Regions from separate parts of the Homo sapiens genome. Here all the other regions are linked to region 2. The links are contacts of gene promoters, found by promoter capture Hi-C in human tissues and cell types (Jung and others, 2019). All regions are on one chromosome and are shown on one strand. The core of a region is centred on a gene start or on the middle of the fragment in contact, and the rest is flanking DNA. Distances in the headings are between cores, read along the strand shown.

Evidence for each region. The method cuts DNA at HindIII sites, captures the fragments that hold promoters and counts their contacts. A contact is called where the count stands out against the background at its distance.
Region 1: a fragment that was not itself captured here is called in contact with the fragment with the promoter of TTC27 in region 2 in 1 of the 25 tissues and cell types used here (bladder).
Region 3: a fragment that was not itself captured here is called in contact with the fragment with the promoter of TTC27 in region 2 in 1 of the 25 tissues and cell types used here (lymphoblastoid cells).

Annotation. Positions count from the first base shown.
Region 1 is chr2:33,016,130-33,020,930 of GRCh38, reverse strand. It overlaps LTBP1 (latent transforming growth factor beta binding protein 1), which reads right to left. Exons shown (of 34, transcript NM_206943.4): 3 at 1-22. Among named protein-coding and RNA genes, the nearest start is that of LTBP1, 72 kb to the right of the region's middle. The HindIII fragment of the contact is 3,658 bases long and covers 1,723-4,801 here.
Region 2 is chr2:32,625,395-32,630,135 of GRCh38, reverse strand. It overlaps TTC27 (tetratricopeptide repeat domain 27), which reads right to left and starts at 2,086. Exons shown (of 20, transcript NM_017735.5): 1 at 1,756-2,086. The coding sequence starts at 1,843. It overlaps LOC124905985 (a long non-coding RNA gene), which reads left to right and starts at 3,358. Exons shown (of 3, transcript XR_007086273.1): 1 at 3,358-3,503; 2 at 4,180-4,297. RefSeq lists a silencer at 1,597-1,726 and enhancers at 1,977-2,036, 1,565-2,224, 2,447-2,506, 2,225-2,886. The HindIII fragment of the contact is 9,918 bases long and covers 1-4,741 here.
Region 3 is chr2:32,935,316-32,939,584 of GRCh38, reverse strand. The region is part of intron 3 of LOC100271832 (a long non-coding RNA gene); the gene reads right to left. Among named protein-coding and RNA genes, the nearest start is that of LTBP1, 9.5 kb to the left of the region's middle. The HindIII fragment of the contact is 5,102 bases long and covers 1-4,269 here.

The DNA.
Region 1 (4,801 bases), core at 2,302-4,801, 390 kb before region 2:
TGACATGGCGGAACACAGCTAGCTGCAGAAAGAAAACAGAAGGCACAGCTTTGAAGAACAACATTGTAGACTTCCTAATTTTTCCAAAGGGTTAACAGTAGCATCAGGTTGTTTGTTCTCCAATAAAAAACCACACAAATACTCATAAGGAGGAAGGTGGGGCAGTTGGGCGGAGGAGGGGGAAGAGAGCTAATATTAATGGCTTCCTATGTGACAGGCACTGTTCTAAAATATATAAACAAATGTAATCCCCCAGCAACGTGTTTTGTAGATATTTTATTGTGCCCACTTTACAGATGAAAAAACAGAAACAGAGATTAAGTGATTTGTTAAACATTATATAATTATTACTCAGTAGAAGAGCTCGGATTTGAAACCAAGTGAGCCAGCTCCAAAGCTATCATTCTTAACCATTTTACTGCATCTGCCTCCCAGAAATGCATCAGAAAATCCAGGAAAAATCGTAAGAAAATGCTCTGCCATTATTTTAAAGTTATGTTCTGTGGCTTAAATTTAAATATACGCTTAACTTAAAATTTAATTTAAAATTTTTTAAGCCTAAATTTTTTGCCAAGACTTGGCAAAAAACAAAAGTTCAGTCCAATCCCCAACCCCAAAAAGTGCTCTCCTATAGACCTCATGTTGTATAGGCTATCAGATCTTCGAGAGACTGTGTCAGAAATTTAGTCCAATCTACTCTTTGACATACGAGAAAACGAGAAAACCAAGGGCAGAAAGGTTGAGAGTCGCCCAAAACACACCTGCTAGTTTGTATAAAAATCCAGTGTGCTAGGCACCATTCCGAATTTAATAATGAAAGGCAACCAAAAAGAAACAACTTCTTCATCTCCTATTTGCAAGGATGTATGTACTCTGAATCACCACACTCCTGACCAAACAGAGTTTTAAAGTTATCAGTCCAGGCACAGTGGCTCACGCCTGTAAGCCCATCACTTTAGGAGGTCATGGTGGGAGGATCGCTTGAGCCCAGGAGTTTGAGATTAGCCTCAGCAACGTAGTAAGACCCTGTCTCTACCAAAAAAAAAAAAAAAAAAATTTAATTAGCTGGGCATGGTGGCACGCACCTGTAGTCCCAGCTACTCAGGAGGCTCTTGAGCTCAGGAGGTCGAGGCTGCAGTGACCGTGATCACAGCACTACACTCCAGCCTAAGCAACAGAATGTAACCCAATCTCAAAATTAAAAATTTAAAAAGAGAAGTTATCAGGGCTGTGGGTCATTGGTAGAGTAAGTAGGTTTTATGATAGGCAAGGTCCCTTAGAAGTTTAGATGCTACTGGCTGGGCACAGTGGCTCACGCCTGTAATCCTAGCACTTTGGGAGACGGAGCCCGGTGGATCACTTGAGGTCAGGAGTTCGAGACCAGCCTGGTCAAAATAGTGAAACCTCATCTCTACTAAAAATACAAAAACTAGCCGAGTGTGGTGGCAGGGGCCTGTAATCCCAGTTCTCGGAAGGCTGAGGTAGGAGAATCACTTGAACCCAGAGGACAGAGGTTACAGTGAGCCGAGATGGTGCCACACATTGCAGCCTGGATGACAGAGGGAAACTTGGTCTCAAAAAAAAAAAAAAAAAAAAAAAAAAGAAGTGTACATGCTACTGACTTAAGTTTTATTATGTAATGTCATAAGCTTATGGCCATGATTCCTTCAGTCCCTTCTTTATTTGTTCAAATACATTTACTATGCTGCCCTGTTGCTGTCAGCTCACCTTTTACATAAACTGTTGGTCCTGAGGCAGATCACACTATCAAGTCTCCCATAAAGTTCAAAACAAGCTTCAGTCCACAAAGCAATTACAAAATAGACAAGCAAAACGAACAACAGGAGACTCAGTTATGAAGATCCAAAAGACCAAGACCTAAAAGCCTCAAAACCTATTGATTTTCTATAAAAGAGACAAAATAATTTTCCCATCTTCCTACAATATGATGCCTATTCGTTACAGCAAGTAATGATTTTTCTAAAATGGCCCTTGGGTGTCAGAATACCAAGCTGACAAATTTTCAGAAAGTTGGGAAGGATTCTCTAAAAGAAAAAAAAAAATGGAGCCAGCTCCCTAGGTGACCTTGGAGTAAGCCACTTAACCCTGGCCTCTGCACTTGTGTGTGTTTGGGGGTTATGAGGAGGGCAGCAGCGATTTGTTCTAAAATGGTCTCCACAATATGAGAATAAAGGCTGTTCCCACACTCTGCTTCTAGAATTCTAGTTCAAAAGCTCTGTGTTTCTAGAATTCAGAATTCTAACTATCAGAGTTTCCTGACCAACTGAGCAAACTTTGTTGCTATATCTGAGATGCTGTCCTGGGTCCCTGCTCAGCCATGGTTATTTCTGGAATGTCACAGGAATGGGAATGGGATCCACCCAAGAGAACAGAAGTGGCCACAGCAAGGACTGAGCTGGGCTTTCAAAGCTGTGCCTTGGCCTGAGCTCACCACCCAGGCCCTTTCATGTGTGCCTTCTCATCATGCTTTCAATTAGAAACATGTTTCTTTTTAACATCTGAGAATGATTTCCGCTTCTCCTCCCGCCCAAGGTACACTGCAAATGTGTTTTCTACCAGGAAGGCTGTTTGGTGCAAAAGCTGGCACCTAGGGGGAGGCCAAGGACTGACATCCTCCAATGTACCACCAAGAATGAGCCGCAAGAACCTGTTTTAAGGAAGACATGGATGGTTAGCATTTTTTTTTAACTCTTCAAATTTTTCATGTGGTAGGGTAAGGGGGGTGGGGAGACAGTCATAAAAGTTAAAAAAAAAAAACTTTGAACTTACAAATATTTTCTACTGGAAGAAAAGTAAAGAACGTGTTATATAATATTACAGCTATGTATATAATACCTCCCTTTGTAGTACATTTTAAAAGGACAATTAGGAGAATGAAAAGACAATTTTCTCTTCTACCTACCCTACCTAGACTCAGACAGGTGCCCCCTAGAGCACGGAGATGAGGAGGGGCTGGATTGAACTGGAGGAGGACAGATTCCCTAACTCCCAAGAGAAGCCCGTCATCTGACATAAAAAGCAAAACTTGTACTTTGGGAGGCCGAGGTGGGCGGATCACAAGGTCAGGAGATTGAGACCATCCTGGTTAACACGGTGAAACCCCGTCTCTACTAAAAATACAAAAAATTAGCCAGGCGTACTGGTGGGTGCCTTTAGTCCCAGCTACTCGGGAGGCTGAGGCAGAAGAATGGCGTGAACCCAGGAGGCGGAGCTTGCAGTGAGCCGAGATAGCGCCACTGCACTCCAGCCTGGGCGACAGAGCAAGACTCCATCTCAAAAAACAAAACAAAACAAAACAAAACAACTCATGTCCTTCTATCACATTTATCAAGCCCCTTTTCCTACAATATTTGGGCCCATGCAGTAGCAGTTCTTACATGGCAGCAAGCATCAGTGGTTCTCACAGTATGGTGCCCAGGCCGGCAGTATCATCCGGGAAAACTTTGAAACTACATATCCTTGGGCTACCCCAAGCCTGCTAAATCTGAAACTGGAGCCCAGCAATCAGTGACTGCCCTCCAAGCGACGTCGATGCACACTCAGGTTTGAGAATCACTGACACACAACATCTGGAAACAGGTCTTCCAGCAGCAAGTTTCTGAGGACTTATATTTTTATACTTGCAAGCTTTCATGCTGTAATTGCTTTTAGGCTACTGAATTCTTGGCTATGATAAAAGTGTTTTATCTTGCCATTTTTATTGCAATTTTAGATGTCATTTTCCATATCTATACATTGCCAAAAGTCTACACATTTGTCCCCATCTACTTCATGGCCAATGCAAAAATTCATAGCATTTACGTGAAAACTTATTATAACTAAGGTGTTGGACTATGTGGAATATTATAAATATTGTCACAGAAGTACCTTTTATTTTTATTTATTTATTTTTTGAGACATAGTCTTACTCTGTCACCCAGGCTGGAGTGCAGTGGCACGATCTTGACTCACTGCAACTTCTGTCCCTCAGATTCAAGCAATTCTCCTGCCTCAGCCTCCCAAGTAGCTGGGATTACAGGCATGCATGCCCAGCTAATTTTTGTATTTTTAGTAGAGATAGGGTTTCGCCATGTTGGCCAGGCTGGCCTTGAACTCCTGACCTCAGGTGATCCACCCACTTCAGCCTCCCAAAGTGCTAGGATTGCAGGCATGAGCCACTGCCCCCAGCCAGCCAGAAGTACTTTTTAATTTAATTTTATTTTTTTTCCCATCAGTTGATTGCTTTTTCCTGGCCAGCACTGTGCTGTGGTTCAGCTCGATGAGTGGAGGCTGAGTGGAGGCTATATCAAGATCTTATCAGTGGATTGGGCGGTGGTTCTCAGGCTTGGCTGTACATTAGAATCACCTGGGGAACTTTTAAAACTCCCCAAACCCAGGCCTAACTCCAAACAGATTAAATCAGAATCTCTAGCGGGGGAGGGCTCCAGGCTTCAGTACTTTTTTAACTCCCCAGGTGACTGAAATATACAGCCAAGTCTGAAAAGTAGTGGGTTAGGAACAAAAACCTAATCCAGGCTTGCGGACAGACTAGTCTTCTAAAACGCTACTCTTTGAATCATTTTTTTCCCTTTCATTCAAAAACTTTCCACACATTTTAGCTGACCAAGGGTAAATGTTAAGGCCATCTACATCTAACCCAAACCCCCTTTTCCACCCTCACTTCTCACTGGTCTACCCCTGCAGAAGCTCACCCAACCTCTGGGATTCCCACCTCCTTGTCTCTGCACAGAGGGAGCCCTATGCAGGAGCACAGGCCCCTCAATCCAATGAGAACAATTAA
Region 2 (4,741 bases), core at 837-3,336:
AAAGTCACTCCAAGAGCGCTGGTTTACTCATTGTTTCCCTAATGTCCCATGCGTATTCCTGCCTCCACACTTTGCACTTGTGATATCGCCTGTTGAACTCTTCTCCACTTGTTAGTCTTACCCTTTAATCCAAAATCAGCTCAAGTCTAACTTCTTCTAGGAAAGTTTTCCAGGCCACCAAAGTTCAAACTTCCTGTCACTGGAAGCACCTACTGTGTCACACAAGTGCCCACACACACACACATACACACAGAGTACTTACACACTACACTGTTCATTATTACTCTTTTGGGTCCAGCCTAAATCCCACAACCAGATGTGCCAGTGCATGTGCCTTTTAACTCTTTATCTCTCTGGTAAATATTCATTGCTCACAAGAATTAATCTTTGCCTCCTAGGCTGGGCGCGGTGGCTCATGCCTGTAATCCCAGCACTTTGGGAGGCCGAGGTGGGTGGATCACGACGTCAGGAGATCGAGACCATCCTGGCTAACACGGTGAAACCCCGTCTCTACTAAAAATACAAAAAAAAAAATTAGCTGGTCGTGGTGGCAGGCGCCTTTAGTCCCAGCTACTCGGGAGGCTGAGGCAGGAGAATGGCGTGAACCCGGGAGGTGGAGCTTGCAGTGAGCCGAGATCGCGCCACTGCACTCCAGCCTAGGCGACAGAGCGAGACTCTGTCTCAAAAAAATAAAAAAAATAAATCATTGCCGCCTAGGCCGTGCATGGTGGCTCATGGCTGTAATCCCAGCACTTTGGGAGGCCGAGGCGGGTGGATCACCTGAGGTCAGGAGTTCCAGACCAGCCTGACCAACATGATGAAAGCCGTCTCTACTAAAAACACAAAATTAGCCGGGCATGGTGGTGCATGCCTGTAGTCCCAGCTACTTTGGAGGCTGAAGCAGGAGAATCGCTTGAACCGGGGAAGCGGAGGTTGCAGTGAGCCGAGATGGCACCAGTGCACTCCAGCCAGAGCAACAAGAGGGAGACTCCATCCCCCCAAAAAAACAACTTTGCTGCCTCATTTTAGCTCCTCTGCTTACCAACAGTGTGACCTTAAATAAATTACTTAACCAGACCCGGGCGCGGTGGCTCAGGCCTGTAATCCCAGCACTTTGGGAGGCTGAGGCAGGCGAATCATCTGAGGTCAGGAGTTCCAGACCAGCTAGGCCAACATGGTGAAACCTCGACTCTACTAAAAATACAAAATTAGCCGGGCGTGGTGGCGCATGCCTGTAATCCCAGCTACCCTGGAGGCTGAGGCAGGAGAATCACTTGAACCCGGGAGGCGGAGGTTGCAGCGAGCCGAGATCGCGCCATTGCACTCCAGCCTGGGCAAAAAGCAAAACTCCGTCTCAATAAATAAATAAATAAATAAATAAATAAATAAATAAATAGATAAAATAAAATTACTTAACCCAACTGTATTTACAGATCTTCACCGCAAAATGGGATTAAAAATTGAATCTACCTTAAGTATCTACTATAAGCATTAAATGACTGAGTACATGTTAAGGGCTTAGAAAAATAACTGACATTGCCATTGTCATTATTACTGAACCTGGGCGGTAAGAAGTTTTGCGCAAAGAAAGTGAGGACCACGCCCACCATGTCAAAGACTAAACGACCCAAAGCCTCAAGGAATCAGCTAGACTGTGTTAGGGAAAAATGAAGGGAGGGATGAGAATCAGTCGCTGCCATCCCTTTTCCTCACAGTTCCCACGATAGCCTAAGGCCCGGTAGGTGCGCCTCTCACCTGAACCGACGACCCCCTCCTGTTTCCATTGCTGCCGCTCAGCCTCAGTGGGGAATCCCCTCAGAATTGCCAGCTCCGGGGTCCACATCACCCCAGACACCGCTGCAGCCAAAACAGGCTCCCACGAGGGCCACACGGGAGTCAACAAAAGAAAGTGAAAACAGGAGAGTCCAAAGGCGCTGAAATCTAGTGGCGACAGTTACCGTAAATACACCTGCGGCCCTAGAATTCCATGTGCGGATACTACCTCAAGGAGGCGGCCATAACAGCAGCGCGGGGCACCCTGGGAAAAACACGCACGCTCTCTGGTCTGGCTTCCGCCTAGGAGAAGAACCCGAGCTTGAGTAAGGAGCCTGTTGGGTGGTTATGCCCCACCCCGGGGCGGGCAATAGGGGGAGTTGAGGGCGCGGTCGCGCTCAGCCCCGCCCCCAGTGGGACCGCTTCCAAGAACTGTGAACGTGGAAGTGAGTGTGCCTCCCACCGAGGGCTAGGGTTCAAATGCAACTCAAAACGGACGTCTTGGCCAAAGCAGTTTGATTAGAAGGGCTAGAGTTGTGATTCTTAAAGCATTTTGGGTTAGAACGCTCTCGACAACCCGATGAAAACCACAGTCCTTCGCGCAGAGTGCAGGTGGGCCCTTGCTCTCAGCCTAAGGGTACCCTCTCAGGGAATCACAGACCCTCTGACGTGGAGTCGGTGAAGCCCAGGTTGGAACCCCGTCAGCATAGCATGGGTCTTTCGGCGAATGAGCGTGTAAGGAAAGGATCTGGTTTTGACACTGCTCTACATGAATCATGGCCGGGTGGGAAATCTGCCCCTGCCGCTGGTGCAGGGAAGTTTTTGGAACACTGTCGGAACGCTGTAGAAGAGTGATCCCAGGGGTGATCACAAAGAAATTGCAAGGAGACAAACCAGCCTCCGCTGGTACCTTATTTGCACTTCTTTGAATCTTCCTAGCAGCACTCCAAAGAAACAGTTAGAGGGCGGGCGCGGTAGCTCACGCCTGTAATCTCAGCACTTTGGGAGGATGAAGCGGATGGATCACCTGAGGTCAGGAGTTCGAGACCAGCCTGGCCAATATGGTGAAACCCGTCTCTACTAAAAATACAAAAATTAGCCGGACGTAGTGGGGCACCCCTGTAAACCCAGCTACTCGGGACGGTGAGGCGGGGGAATTGCTTGAACCCGGGAGGCGGAGGTTTCAGTGAGCTGAGATGGTGCCACTGCACTCCAGCCTGGGCAATAGGAAAGAGGGAGGGAGGGAGGGAAGAAGGAAGGAAGGGAGGGAGGGAGGGAAGGAGGGAAGGAAAACAGGACTATGGCTTTGTCCCATTGGCTTGACACCTGTACTGAGATATGTCATGTAAGAGCCAGGAGAAAACTGCAGGGTAACTCTGACCACAAGAGCAAAAGCTCTCTGAAAAGAGGCTGACCCGGTACCCAGCTCCAAGGAAGAAGCTAAATAAATGTTAATTCACTTTCTTACTCAGTAAAGAGCCACTCCAGAATGTGAAGGGAGAGGAACTCAGCTCAGCTCATTTCAGCCATTGCCATCAGATACCAAAGGAAGCCGGACCTGACTGTGATTGGAGAAGAGCGGATGCCCTAAAATGTCCTCCCACTGAGAAGTAATTAAAAACTGTTTTTCAGGCCGGGCGCAGTGGCTCACGCCTGTAATCTCAGCACTTTGGGAGGCCGAGGCGGGCGGATCATGAGGTCAGGAGATGGAGACCATCCTGCCTAACAAGGTGAAACCCCATCTCTACTAAAAATATTTTTTTAAAAAATTAGCCGGGCGTAGTGGCGGGCGCCTGTAGTCCCAGCTGCTCAGGAGGCTGCCGCAGGAGAATGGCCTGAACCCAGGAGGCGGAGGTCGCAGTGAGCCAAGATCGCGCCACTGCACTCCAGCCTGGGCAGCAGAGCGAGACTCCGTCTCAAAAAAATAAACAAACAAAAAAAACCCCACTATTTTTCTAGAAAATGATACTTGACCAGGTTGTCTGTTCATTTCCTTAAGTATAAAAGCCAGCACTGTCTAAACTAATTTGATAATTGTTAAAGATGAACGTCTGTAAAAACACACTGGCCGCTCTGCCAAAGTTCCTCACCTGTATGTAGCACCCCGTTAATCCACATAGTAAACTTGCAACTTTCAGTTAAATTCAAGGTTGGTTTGTTTTAAATGTGGTATGCTAGATGATGATGGTGACTGAAGTCTGCCTAATCTCCCTTCAAGCAAAGTGAATTCCAGTAATAAAGTAGGTGGGGAATATGGTCTCGATTAAAAATATGTACATAGTGAGTGGAAATTGAGCAGGCAATGAAATATCTACTGTAGGATTCAGTATAGAATGCCTTGGCTGACGAGTCTATTGGGATCCTGTATGTCACTATCTAAAAGTCTTTTTTTCTTGGGCTGGTCAGATTTCTCCAAAAGACTCTTTAAATCTCCTACCTGGAAGGTGAGGCTCTGGCTGCCACAGTTCCAGGGCCCAGTGGAGATAGAAAGCCAGAAGTCTCCATATTCAAGACTAAGAATGAGGTAAGTGAGAGATACTTTTAACAGAATTTAGGACTATCCTTGGCTTATTTTATGCCTCTAATCCATGTTGTTTCCTTTCTCGTCTCTTATGTCAAGTAGTTCCCAACCTATTACAAAATCTCATCTTCTCTAAACTAGTGATTCTAGCTAAATGTTTATAGTAATGTTTGGTCTACAGTAAAAAATAAATACAATTATAACACCTCTATTTTGAAATACTGTGTGACAAGGAAACAAGGTTTTGCATCGTTTCTTCCAAAAGGAGAAAAAATAGGAAGGAGGATGGCTGGAGATGTAAATTCAACAAGTATTACAAGAGGCTAGGAGATTGGAGAAAATAATGGTGCCATGGGAGCATCAGAGGGGTCAAGGAGGACCAGATCAGAGTTTGGTTGCACTGACTAGAAGGAAGCACAGGGCAAGGACTGGCTCACTCTCTGAAGG
Region 3 (4,269 bases), core at 1,071-3,570, 310 kb before region 2:
ACCTCAGATGATCCACCCACCTCGGCGTCCCAAAGTGCTGGGATCACAGGCATGAGCCACCGCGCCTGGCCTAGAATTGCTTCTTTACTTAAATTTCAGGGAGTTATTAAAATTGTTATATCGTTTGTCTACATTAGAAGTTTCACCCAATAGCACTAGAACATGATGCTGCCTGAGTTTAACACTTGATCCTAATTTTTTTCCCGATAATCTTTCTGTCTGCCTTCAAACTGAGAAAGACATTATATAGTGACCAAAGCAATCTAGAAACAGAAGAAAACTAGGAGAAAAAATACTATTCCACTTCTACATATCAATTCCTGGCCTCGTCTGCTCTTCTAAAACCTAAGGCCCATCACAGATTGCCTCCTTCTTAATTTTTCAACCTAATCTTGGGCTACATCCTCAAATAAACCTTCTGTTCCAACTACATTTATCTACCTATTTAGGTTGGTGCAAAAGTAATTGCGGTTTTCGCCATTACTTTGCAAAACCTCAATTACTTTTGCACCAACCTCATATTTTTCTTCTCACTCTTTGGAAGGAAAAAAAAAGACCCTGATCAGTCACTAGTCTGTGGAAATATGACACCCAAATTGCTGCTTCCAAGCCTCCCTTCATATCATTCTGAAATTCTCTCACCTCCTCAACTAAGTCTTCCTTCTCCTTCAATTAGAATTTGAGATCCTTTCATCCATGAAGCCCTTTGAAATGACCTTAACTTCAGTTTACTCTCTCTTCTAAACTCTTATGTATATTATCCATTCTCTTATGACCATTGAACACACAATCCTTGCTTTGTGATAGACATAGAATACTTCTAGCAGGGGAAGACTTTTTTCTCCTTGGTCATCATGAGATAAACCAGAATTAAGGCAGGTCTTGGTTAATAATGCCTGAGGTTTGGTTAGGGACATTCTGACCTGTCTTTAGCTGTTTTCAGGCAGCATTTTGCTGAGCAATGGAGTTTGCTTAAATTTTACCCTAACCTGAATTAAGTTGCTTTAACCAAATCAAGCAGTGGCCCTAGGGGGAGTGAGGGGAGTTTCCTAATCCTAAATTAATGGTTTAAAAAGTTCTGTAGAAAGAATCCTGTTATATTTGTGTCTAAACACTGTAATATTTACAGAATTATGTCATTAAAATAGTGCTTTTAAAACATCTCTCTTTTGTTGTCCTCTCAACTTCCCGTTTGTGGAGATCAGGACATACTCTGAGAATTGCAACTAGTACAAATCATCACAATATGGATAAACTGAGCAATATACAGAAGTCCCTCTCACCACCAAAGAAACATTAGCTATACAAGGCATGAGCTGTCTTTCTAAGCAGAGAGGGGAGACCAGTAAAACCAGCCCAGCGTCTGTGATTCCTCCAGGTTTCCCGGTTTTAAAGCCCAGGTTTAAAAAGCTACTGCTGAGACGGATCGGGTTACATCTTCCAGCTGCCAGAGAACCTTACACTTAACCCTTCCCAATCCTCGACCTGGATGTTGCACTCCCATTTCACTTCCTAGAAAGGGTATCTTCTATCTTTGTATGTCTCCCTATGTTCTATTCCTTACATATGAGCAACTGGCCAAAGCCCCAGGTGAAGCTTCCTGTGGCCACACTACGTTCCATGCTTCAGCCTCATCTCTGGAGTCCTGCCTGTGCTGAGGACAGAGACCTTGCGTGTCACGTCCTCCGTGCCTAATACGGTGTGCAATTCATGGTCAAGGTTCAGTGTTTGTTAAATGAATGATTGTGAACCTTCTGATGCCTATGTCACAATAAGAAAACTGCTGACTATCTTTTTTTTGTTTGTTTATCATGAGCATAAACTGTGCCCAAGATCCTTAAGTTGTCAAGGGTCTGGAGATTGATTAATTAATTCTTTCATCCATTGACTCATTCGTTCATTTGTACACCATTCCCTAGACGTTTTTGAGGGCCAGTTGTTTTTTAAGGAACCAAGAATGAGGATGAGAAATTACTTAATGGGTATAACATATACTATTCAGGTGATGGCCACACTAAAAGCCCAGACTCCACCACTACCCGATATACCCATGTAACAAAACTGCAGTTTTGCCCCTTAAATTTATACAAATAAAAAACAGCCTGGGCACGGTGGCTCATGTCTGTAATCCCAGCATTTTGGGAGGCCAAGGCAGGTGGATCGCTTGAGCTCAGGAGTTCAAGACCAGCCTGGGCAACATGGTGAAACCCCATCTCTACCAAAAATACAAAAAGTTAGCCGGGTGTACTGGGAGGCTAAGATGGGAGGATCACCTGAGCCTAAGAGGTTGAGGCTGCAGTGAGCTGTAATCACACCACCACCACTCCAGCCTGGGTGACAGAGTGAGACCCTATCTCAAAAACAACAACAAAGAATGGGGAAAGGATTTTAGACATTTTTATTTAGGGATCTAATATTCCTGACTAAATCCAAGGATTCTCTCCGAAAATCTTCTCTTCAGAAGGCATGGTGTAAAGAGATGGATAGGTAGAATCTCTTCCTACAATCCTCTTGCAGCTAATTGCCAGACAATTTACATGAGCACATATAACAGTATCTGTAAAAAGTAAATACATGATCCTGGATATTTGTGTACCAGAAGGGAGTGAAATGCATGGTTAAGGGCACAAATTTTGGTATCAAACAACCTGGGCTCAGTTCCCAGTTCTGCTTCTAGGTATGGGAGTGAATTTAGGGGCATAAGGCCCATGTTCTGGAAGAATCTAGGAAACAGCCGGATGGGCATTAAGGAATTAAACTCTTGAATCCCCCTTGAACAATCACTTCTATGAGGGAATGCTTTTGAGTACTCATTGCTGCCCTGAGAGCCACTTCTCAGCTGGAAGCAGTTGGAAACAGATAATCTCAGCGTTAGATTCTAAGGGGTCTGTCAAGACTGCCATTTTATGTTATCCCTTTAAGGTTCAGCATGCGGAATAATTTCTCAGCCATCATGAAGTGTTTCCTGGTAGCCAGCTCAGGCTCTACAGATTTACCACCCTAACTCTTCCAGTAAAAGAAAGCCATTTTCAGAAAAACAGAACTTCCTCCAGAGGTTTTATAGCCAAAGGTACCAAAAACTGATGTGTCTCTTGTGTTTTTCACTTGGTGGAGAGAAGCCACAGGGTTGCAATTTCAGATACGCTTGTCTCTAGAAAATAGAACTTGTCTGGGAGGGGATTTAGAGCAAAGATGGAGGAGGAGGCCTCGATTTTACAAAGAAGGATGGTGGGAAGAAGAGAAGGGAAGAAAATCATTCATTATCATTCACTGAGCACTTACAAAGGCCCATCAGTGGCATGGGGGGTAGGGGGGAGTCTGCACCTGCCATCACAGAAGGGGGCTGCTGTTTAAATGTTTGTCTTCATGACTGTTGACAAAAAGAGTCAAATTATAAAATATTTAAAGAGATTTATTCTGAGCCAAATATTAGGACCATGACCCATGACACAGCCCCAGTGGCCCTGAGAACATGTGCCAAAGGTAGTGGGGATGCAGCCTGGTTTTATACATTTTAGGGAGACATAAGACATCAATCAATACAGGTAAGGTGTAGATGGGTTCAGTCTGGAAAGGTGGGACAACACAAAGTGGGGTGGGGCAGGGGGTTTTCAGGTCATAGGTAGATTCAAAGATTTTCTGATACAGATGAAGCCTCCAGGTAGCAGGCTTCAGAGAAAATAGATTGTAAATGTTTCTTATTAGACTTAAAAAGATGCCAGACTCAGGTAATTATCTCCTGGATCAAGGAAAAGACCTGGAAAGGGAAGGGGATTCTCTACAGAATGTAGATTTTCCCCACAAGAGACGGCTTTGCAGGGCCATTTCAGAATATGTAAAAAAAATATACTTCAGTTGCTTTCAGGGTCTGCTATCTGTCACGTTGGTATCTTATTACTGCAAAGAGTCAGTTTTGTCAGTCTTAAGTCTCTGTTTTAATGTTTGTTGGTTTGTTTGCTTTTGAGACAGAGTTTCACTCTTGTTGCCCAGGCTGGAATGCAATGGCTCAATCTTGGCTCACTGCAACCTCCACCTCCCAGTTTCAAGCGATTCTCTTGCCTCAGGCCTCCCGAGTAGCTGGGATTATAGGCGTGAACCACCATGACTGGCTAATTTTGAATTTCTAGTAGAGATGGGGTTTTGCCATGTTGGTCACGCTGGTCTCGAACTCCTGATCTCAGGCAATCCAACCGCCTCGGCCTCCCAAAGTGCTGGGATTACAGGTGTGAGCCACCGTGCCTGGCCTGTTTTAATGTTGATGCTGGTCAG